Regions from separate parts of the Homo sapiens genome. Here region 1 is linked to region 2. Evidence: promoter capture Hi-C in human tissues and cell types (Jung and others, 2019). All regions are on one chromosome and are shown on one strand. Each heading gives the region's core, a stretch centred on a gene start or on the middle of the fragment in contact. The rest is flanking DNA. Distances are from core to core; before and after follow the strand shown. Region 1 holds the start of TUBG1 (tubulin gamma 1). Region 2 holds the start of AARSD1 (alanyl-tRNA synthetase domain containing 1).

Region 1 (3,731 bases), core at 100-2,599, 350 kb before region 2:
AAAGCATATTTACAGTGCTACTTTTCCAGCTCAGGAAAACTCACACACAGTATTAGACATCAATTTCCTTGCCTATAAACCATGGCTAAGGATGCCTCTCTAATTCCTTGGAACAGGGAGGAGTTACAATCACAGGTGGCTTTGACACGCGTGTAATCTCCGTCATCATTTCCTAACTGTTCTTTAAAAGCTTGTAATTTTCTTTCAATTTTCAGCTTTGGGGGCTCACACTGACGCTTAGACTTCATAAACTTCCTTCCTAGATATATAACATGCTAATTCATGCGAATCGCTCAAGCTTGTTTTATAATCACACCTATGGATACCTTTGCAAGACTTCACGCCTCTACTCCAACAATAAACTACTAAAACCTCTGGAAACAATCTAGAACTTGCACTTGAGCAGACAAGAGAAAGGAAGTGATGGCTTTAAAGGGACGCAGCTTTGTCGGGCTCAAAAGAGGAGCCCTCGCTCACTCTTGAGCGGCTCAAGATGTTACCAGAAGCTCCCGCCAGATGTGCGGGGCGGGGGTGCGGGCACAGGTAAGGCAGAGAAGATGGGTGGACGGCCCTGGGAAGAACTAGGGTGCCGAAGCCTGCAGGCGGGATGGAGTGGAAGGAGGTGAGGCAAAATTAGGCAAGTACAGGAAGGAGCCAGTGCAGCGAAGAAAACAGGGCAGGCGAGAAGTAGAGCCCTAGAGGAACCAACGAATTCGGGACTCGGAGGGTTTCCGAGGGTCCAGTTCTCTCACCAGAAAGCCGCGTTCAGCCCCAGGCACCACAGAGCGCTCCTAGCTGGCCGCTCCCACACCAGGGCTGCCTGCACCCGACTCAGCAGAGGCTCGTAAGGCCCCAGCACCTCCACCAGGGCCCGCTGCGCCGCCTCAACCTGCTGGTCCCGCTCCCAGGAGCCTGACACATCTCGGCGGCCCCTGAAAGTCGACCCCGAAGCCGGGCCTGGGGTCGTGGGAACCCCTTCGGCCTCAGCCATCTCCCCGCGGCAGCCACAACATCCGGGGCCGTGGCCCGACAAGTCACAATAACAGCAACTGCGCAGATGCGCGATTCGGCGGGGGAGGTGGCTTCGCACCACAGCGCGCTTGCGCGCAGGCCCAAGCAGGCGCCCACCCAGAGGGGAGGGAGGACGCCGTACCCCGCCCTCACTGAGGCGCGGAGCCGGATCCGGAGGCGCCGAGCCGCATCCGGAGCCGCGCACGCGCAATCTGCATGAACGAAGGCCAGTGCTTAAAGACGTGCCATTCATTGCCAGAACTCGATTCTCATTGGAGCGGAGGAAGTTCGTGGGTGGAGCTGGTTGTTTGGCGCCTGCGTCTTGCGGCGAGCGGGCTGGCGTGCGGCGCCGTTGCGGGCGGGAGCGGCTGCAACGCCGGTGCCTGAGGAGCGATGCCGAGGGAAATCATCACCCTACAGTTGGGCCAGTGCGGCAATCAGAGTGAGCGAAACTCCGGCCCCTCAGCTAGCCAGGTTCCTTAGGGTCAATGGGATCTCGCTGTGGGATCCTGGACTCCATCTGTCCTTGCCAGAATCGTAGTTCTCTGAAAGGCGAGACATCCCTGACCCAGTGTCCACTTGCCCAACCCCGAGGGGCCCTCCCCTGCCCAGTCCCTGGCGTACAGTCCTTTCCTCAGACACGGGAGAGTCCTGCGGCTTGACTTCTTATCCCTGGACGCAGGCGCCCAGTCCCCCGGCTCCTGATTGGAACCTGCCCGGACCTAGATATCTTCTTTCTCCCCTGCCCGCCCCTTCCCCCCAGTTGGGTTCGAGTTCTGGAAACAGCTGTGCGCCGAGCATGGTATCAGCCCCGAGGGCATCGTGGAGGAGTTCGCCACCGAGGGCACTGACCGCAAGGACGTCTTTTTCTACCAGGTGCCCCCAGCGACTTGGCCGGGGGCGGCAGTTGCCCAAGGGGGCGGAAGGGAAGGGAGTGGCCTGGTACTGGGAACCCCGCTGGGCAGTAGGGCCAGGCGGCTGGCTTGAGGAGGGAGGGCCGGAGGGAGCCAGAGTTGGGAGGACTTCGGACTTGGGCCGCCCTAGCTGATTGGGCCCCCTCCTGGACTCCCCTTGACAGGCAGACGATGAGCACTACATCCCCCGGGCCGTGCTGCTGGACTTGGAACCCCGGGTGATCCACTCCATCCTCAACTCCCCCTATGCCAAGCTCTACAACCCAGAGAACATCTACCTGTCGGAACATGGAGGAGGAGCTGGCAACAACTGGGCCAGCGGATTCTCCCAGGTCGTTTCCTATTCCCTGGCAGGGCCCACAACTCGCTGGGTAGGGACAGGCTCTATGACGTCCCGAAGAGAGGGAAAACCGGATCAGGGATGTATGAATGCTGGAGGGAGAGACCTGGCTGCAGGGAGTGGACTATGTAATATTGTCAAGCGCCTACACTAGCTAATGCAGTGTGCCAGGTCATTCTAAGTGCTTTACATATATTAATTTTTCTAAATCTCCCAACAACCCTAGAAGTAAGTACTACAGGTCCACAGTCCCTTATCTGCCTTTCCAGGATCCAGAAAGCCATGAAACCAAAGGACATTTCATAACTAGTTTATCAGCAAAAACAAATTTCAATGAAGACAGGCTGTTTTATAGTTTCTTTTTTTTAATTTTTATTTATTTATTTTTTTTGAGACGGAGTCTCACTCTGTCGCCCAGGCTGGAGTGCAGTGGCACGCTCTCAGCTCACTGCAACCTCTGCTGCCCGGGTTCAAGCGATTCTCCTGCCTCAGCCTCCCGAGTAGCTGGGATTACAGGTGCTTGCCATCACGCCTGGCTAATTTTTGTATTTTTAGTAGAGACGGGGTTTTACTGTGTTAGCCAGGGTGGTCTTGATCTCCTGACCTCGTGATCCACCTGCCTCGGCCTCCCAAAGTGCTGGGATTGCAGGCGTGAACCGCCATGCCCGGCCCTATAGTTTCTATCCAACTTACTGTCATTAGTGATGCCTTTTATTACAGAAATACTAATATATTTGATTAACGTGCTTCTGATTAAATAAAAATTCCCACTGGAATTTTATTTAATATATAGTATATATACCATAATACCTTTCTAAAATCTGAAATATTTTGAATTCCAAAACATAACTGGCCCCAACACTGTTAGATAAGGGTATATGGACCTGTATTATTACCTTCATTGTACAGATGAGGAAACTGAGGCATAGAGCAATTAAATAAGCTGCCCAGAGCTACATAGAAGTAGAGTTAATGGGCCAGGCGTGGTGGCTCACGCCTGTAATCCTAGCACTTTGGGAGGCCAAGGCAGGCAGATCACCTGAGGTCAGGAGTTCAAGACCAGCCTAGCCAACATGGTGAAACTCTGATTCTACTAAAAATACAAAAAATAGCTGGGCATGGTGGCATGCGCCTATAATCCCAGCTACTGGGGAGGCTGAGGCAGGAGAATCGCTTGAACCCAGGAGACGGAGGTTGCCATGAGCCAAGATCGCGCCACTGCACTCCAGCCTGGGAGAAAGAGAGAGACTCCATCGCAAAAAAAAATAGAGCTAATGTATGAACCCAGGTAGTCTGGGTGTAGAGTGCTTTCTTGTAACCACTGCACCGTACTGCCTCTCAATGTAGATAAAAGCAGGTAGCTATGCTCCATAAAAGGACTTCTGGGTGTTATAAGGAGAATTGAGGGTGGCTTTTCTGAGGTCAGAGACCTCCCATGGTTCTGTCCCACTCTGACCCTCCCCTAT
Region 2 (4,345 bases), core at 1,846-4,345:
AAATAAGTAAACGTAATCAATGGCAAGGCAGGGCTCACCCTAACTTCTAGGTACAAAGACCCTCTAGGGTGAGAGACCCAGAATCTGGGCTCCCTAAGGGAGAGGGAGAAAGCAATGCCAAGTGAAATGAGTCCACTTTGTTCCATGAGAGGATTCTCAGTCCTTTTCATTCTAAACACCTATGTGTTGTGATCTTCAGAATAACAGAATTAAAGAGATTGTAACTACAGCAACAAAAATTTTAGTAAAACCCGAAGAATCTTAATCCTCAACTCTCCTTGCCTTAGTCTAGATTCTTTTGTAGTCTCTAAAATGATCTGATTTTTCCTCCCTCCCTCCACTCCATCCTCTTGCAGTGGTATTAGAATTAGATTCAAAAATGTTCATTTAGGCTGGGCATGGTAGCTTATTCCTGTAATCCCACCACTTTGGGAGACCAAGGCAGGAGGATCGCTTGAGATCAGACTGGACAACACAGTGAGACCCCACCTCTATGAAAAATAAAAAATTAGCTGGCCATGATACTCCCTGCTACTTGGGAGGCTGAGGTGGGAGAATCACTTGAGCCCAAAAGGTTGAGACTGCAGTGTGCTATGATTGCTCCACTACACTCCAGCCTGGGTGACAGAGTGAGACACTGTCTCATTTAAAAAAAAAAAAGGGCCAGGTACAGTGGCTCACACCTGTAATCCCAGTACTTTGGAAGGCCGAGGTGGGCGGATCACAAGGTCAGGAGATCAAGACCATCCTGGCCAACATGGTGAAACCCCGTCTCTACTAAAATACAAAAAATTAACTGGGCATGGTGGTGCACACCTGTAGTCCTAGCTACTCGGGAGACTGAGGCAGGGGAATTGCTTGAACCTGGCAGACGGAGATTGCAGTAAGCCGAGATCACGCCGCTGCGCTCCAGCCTGGCAACAGAGCAAGACACCATCTCAAAAAAAAAAAAAAAAAAAGTTCATTCATTTTAAAACATTTCAAGTGCCAACTGCTTACAAAAGACTGTGCCAGCCCAAGAATACAATGTAAACAAGATATGGTACCTCATGGAACTTAAGAGTCTAGAGAACAGAGGCTGGAAAACAGACAATTGCAATATGACCTATAACATGCCATAATATGAAAAAGTATATGACGCTAGAGAACCTCAAAGGAAAGAGACCTAACAGTCTTGGGGAATCAAAAAAAGACTTCCTGAAAGAAATGCTGTCTAAAATGAGACCTTCTATGGATACTTGAGGTCACAGGTTTTCCTTCAGCAGATCAGGGAAATCTTCATACTGGGAAAATCACCATAATAATGACTGATATGAAATTGGAACTCTCTCAATACCAAGTCTACTGAACATGTTCTCTCATGTCACTTATTTGCTTAAGAACCTGAGTGGAGGCCAGGGCAGTGGCTCACACCTGTAGGCCCAGCCTTTGGGAGGCCAAGGTGGGAGGACTGTTTGAGGCCAGGAGCTCAAGATCAGCCTGGGCAATAAAGTGAGACCTCATCTCTACAAAAAAGCAGCCAAGCATGTTGGTTGTGCGCCTGTAGTCCCCACTACTGGAGAGGCTAAAACAGGAGGATTGCTTGAGCCTGGGAGTTCGAGGCTGCAGTGAGCTAGATCAGGCCACTGCACTCCAGCCTGGGTGACATAGCAAGATCCTGTCTCTTAAAAATAAAAAAGAAAGAAAATAACCTGCATGGTTCGCTGCCCACACACCTTAATACACCTTTTTTTTTTCTTTTGAGACGGAGTCTTGTTCTGTCCCCCACGCTGAAGTGCAGTGGCACAATCTTGGCTCACTGCAACTTCAGCCTCCCGGTTCAAGTGATTCTCATGCCTCAGCCTCCCGAGTAGCTGGGACTACAGGGGCCTGCCAGTATGCCTGGTTAATTTTTATATTTTTAGTAGAGACAAGGTTTCATCATGTTGGTCAGGCTACTTGGGAGGCTGAGACAGGAGAATCACTTGAACCCAGGAGGCGGAGGTTGCAGAGCTGAGATCATGCCACTGCACTTCAGCCTGATGACAGCGAGAGATTCTGTCTCAAAAAAAAAAAGAAAGAAAGAAAGAAAAGAAAAGAAAGAAAAGCCTTTCTCATAATGCCCACCTTTGGTGTTATTATCCTCCTCTTCCATCTTCACAATGTACCTCACTTGCGCTCATGTTGTACCTAGTCCTCATCACAGCACTGATAAATATGCTCTCTGCTGTACTACTGTAACCCGTCTATCTCACCTGAACTCCTTCAGGAACATCTTTTTCAGTCCCTAAAACCCGAAGCTAATTCCTTCCTTGGGGCCTTTGCACCTGCTATTCTACCTGCCTGAATACTCCCTCTGCCCCCCAGCACCACTAGATAATTGCAAAGACTCACCCCCTCACTTCGTTTAGGTCTCTACTGAAATAACTTACCCTTCATCTAGACAAGCATCCCATCACTCTCTTTCCCTTTACTTGGTTTTTGTTTATTACTTATTATACCTAGCACACACAGTTGTCTTCAATAAACATTCCACGTATATAAAGGCACTGTGTTGTTCACCGGTTATCCTTACAGCCTGGAATAATATCTAGCATATGTTATGTCTAGATAAGCAATTGCTGATAAATACTCATTAAATGAATAACAAAATGAATTAAACTAAAGCTCATCTGAATTCATTATGGCTGAGAAAAAAGGGGCAGGAGAGCATTTCGGCCTGAGCACAAAGAAACTGGGGGCTTCCTGGGAAGAGATCGTTTTGGTACCTGTCCCCCGCCCTCAGGGAAAAGCACTGTGTCTTCCAGCACCACTTGGAAACCGCTCAGCACTTCTTTCTTGCCGTTGCTCCCTTCAGTCTGCAGCTCCGCGGGACAGCAGGAGACCACGGTGGTGGTGAACTGAACAGAGAGGAATGAGAGAATAAGCCCCGACCCCAGCCCTAGCCCTAGCCCTCTCCACACCAGGACAGAATGCCATGTTGGCACTCCCTACACGTGGCGCCCTCTTCCCCAAACCGCCTTGCCGGCCCGGCAGTCTCAAGTGCCTCGCCGTGACGCCGTACCTCTCGGGCATAACTGTCACGCTGACACCAGAACGCCATACCTGCAGGCGTGTGAGGAGGCGCACGCGCAGAGAAGCCTGGGAGCGAACGGAGAGCGACGTGGGACAAACGTCATCAAGGGCGCTTGTCTGCGCAGAAGCAGGAGGGTAAGGAATGGAATGCGGTTTGGATAAATTTACTGAAAACGCGAATTGCATATTTGCTGGGTTGTTTAACGACTGTTCTAAGGCTTTACAAAGGACAAGACCAGGAGGAAAAAAACAAACAAACAAAAACAAAAAAACGCGACCTGGACAAGGCACGTGGTTTAGTGAGCCCCTTGGGGCCCCAGGGATGTAAGTATTCTGGCTGCGGAATCCCAGCGCATAGAGGCGGGGACGGGACTGGCATGGTTACTGAGCAGCACTGCCCAGTAGAAATAGAAAGCAAGGAGCTGGGGGAGGTGGCTCACGCCTGTAATCCCAGCATTTTGGGAGGTCGAGGCGGGTGGATCACCTCAGGCCAGGAGTTCGAGACCAGCCTGGCCAACATAGCGAAACTCCGTCTCTACTAAAAATACAAAAATTAGCCGGGCGTGGTGGCGGGCGCCTGTAATCCCAGCTACCCGGGAGGCTGAGGCAGGAGAATCGCTGGAACCCGGGAGGCGGGGTTGCAGTGAGCAGAGATTGCACCACTGCACTCCAGCCTGGGCGACAGAGCGAGACTCCGTCTCAATTAAAAAAAAAAAAAAAAAAAAAAAAAAAGGCCGAGCGCGGTGACTCACGCCTGTAATCCCAGCACTTTGGGAGGCCGAGGCGGGCGGATCACGAGGTCAGGATATCGAGACCATCCTGACTAACGCGGTGAAATCCCGTCTCTACTAAAAATACAAAAAATTAGCCGGGCGTGGTGGCGGACGCCTGTAGTCCCAGCTACTCCGGAGGCTGAGGCAGGAGAATGGCGTGAACCTGGGAGGCGGAGCTTGCAGTGAGCCGAGATCGCACCATTGCACTCCAGCCTGGGCGACAGAGCGAGACTCCGTCTCAAAAAAAAAAAAAAAAAAAAAAAAGAAGAACAATTTGGCCAGCGTGGCCAACATGGTGAAACCCTGTTTCTACTAAAAACACAAAAACATTAGCCAGGCGTGGTGGCACACGCCTATATAATCCCAGCTACACGGGAGGCTGAGGCAGGAGAATCACTTTAACCCGAGAGGAGGAGGTTGCAGTGAGCCGAAATCGTACCACTGCACTCCAGCCTGGGTAACCCAGCGAGACTACGTCTCAAGAAAATTACATTACATTACATTAAAATAGTTTGGGC

The links. The method cuts DNA at HindIII sites, captures the fragments that hold promoters and counts their contacts. A contact is called where the count stands out against the background at its distance.
Region 1: a contact is called between the fragment with the promoter of TUBG1 here and the fragment with the promoter of AARSD1 in region 2, in 2 of the 25 tissues and cell types used here (aorta and mesendoderm cells).

Annotation. Positions count from the first base shown.
Region 1 is chr17:42,608,334-42,612,064 of GRCh38, forward strand. It overlaps TUBG1 (tubulin gamma 1), which reads left to right and starts at 1,350. Exons shown (of 11, transcript NM_001070.5): 1 at 1,350-1,453; 2 at 1,775-1,887; 3 at 2,090-2,257. The coding sequence starts at 1,405. It overlaps RETREG3 (reticulophagy regulator family member 3), which reads right to left and starts at 1,041. Exons shown (of 9, transcript NM_178126.4): 1 at 753-1,041. The coding sequence starts at 991. RefSeq lists an enhancer at 923-1,032. The HindIII fragment of the contact is 7,237 bases long and covers 1-3,731 here.
Region 2 is chr17:42,961,359-42,965,703 of GRCh38, forward strand. AARSD1 (alanyl-tRNA synthetase domain containing 1) reads right to left here and starts at 3,096. Exons shown (of 12, transcript NM_001261434.2): 1 at 3,044-3,096; 2 at 2,748-2,879. The coding sequence starts at 3,082. PTGES3L-AARSD1 (PTGES3L-AARSD1 readthrough) reads right to left here. Exons shown (of 17, transcript NM_001136042.2): 7 at 2,748-2,879. The HindIII fragment of the contact is 19,831 bases long and covers 1-4,345 here.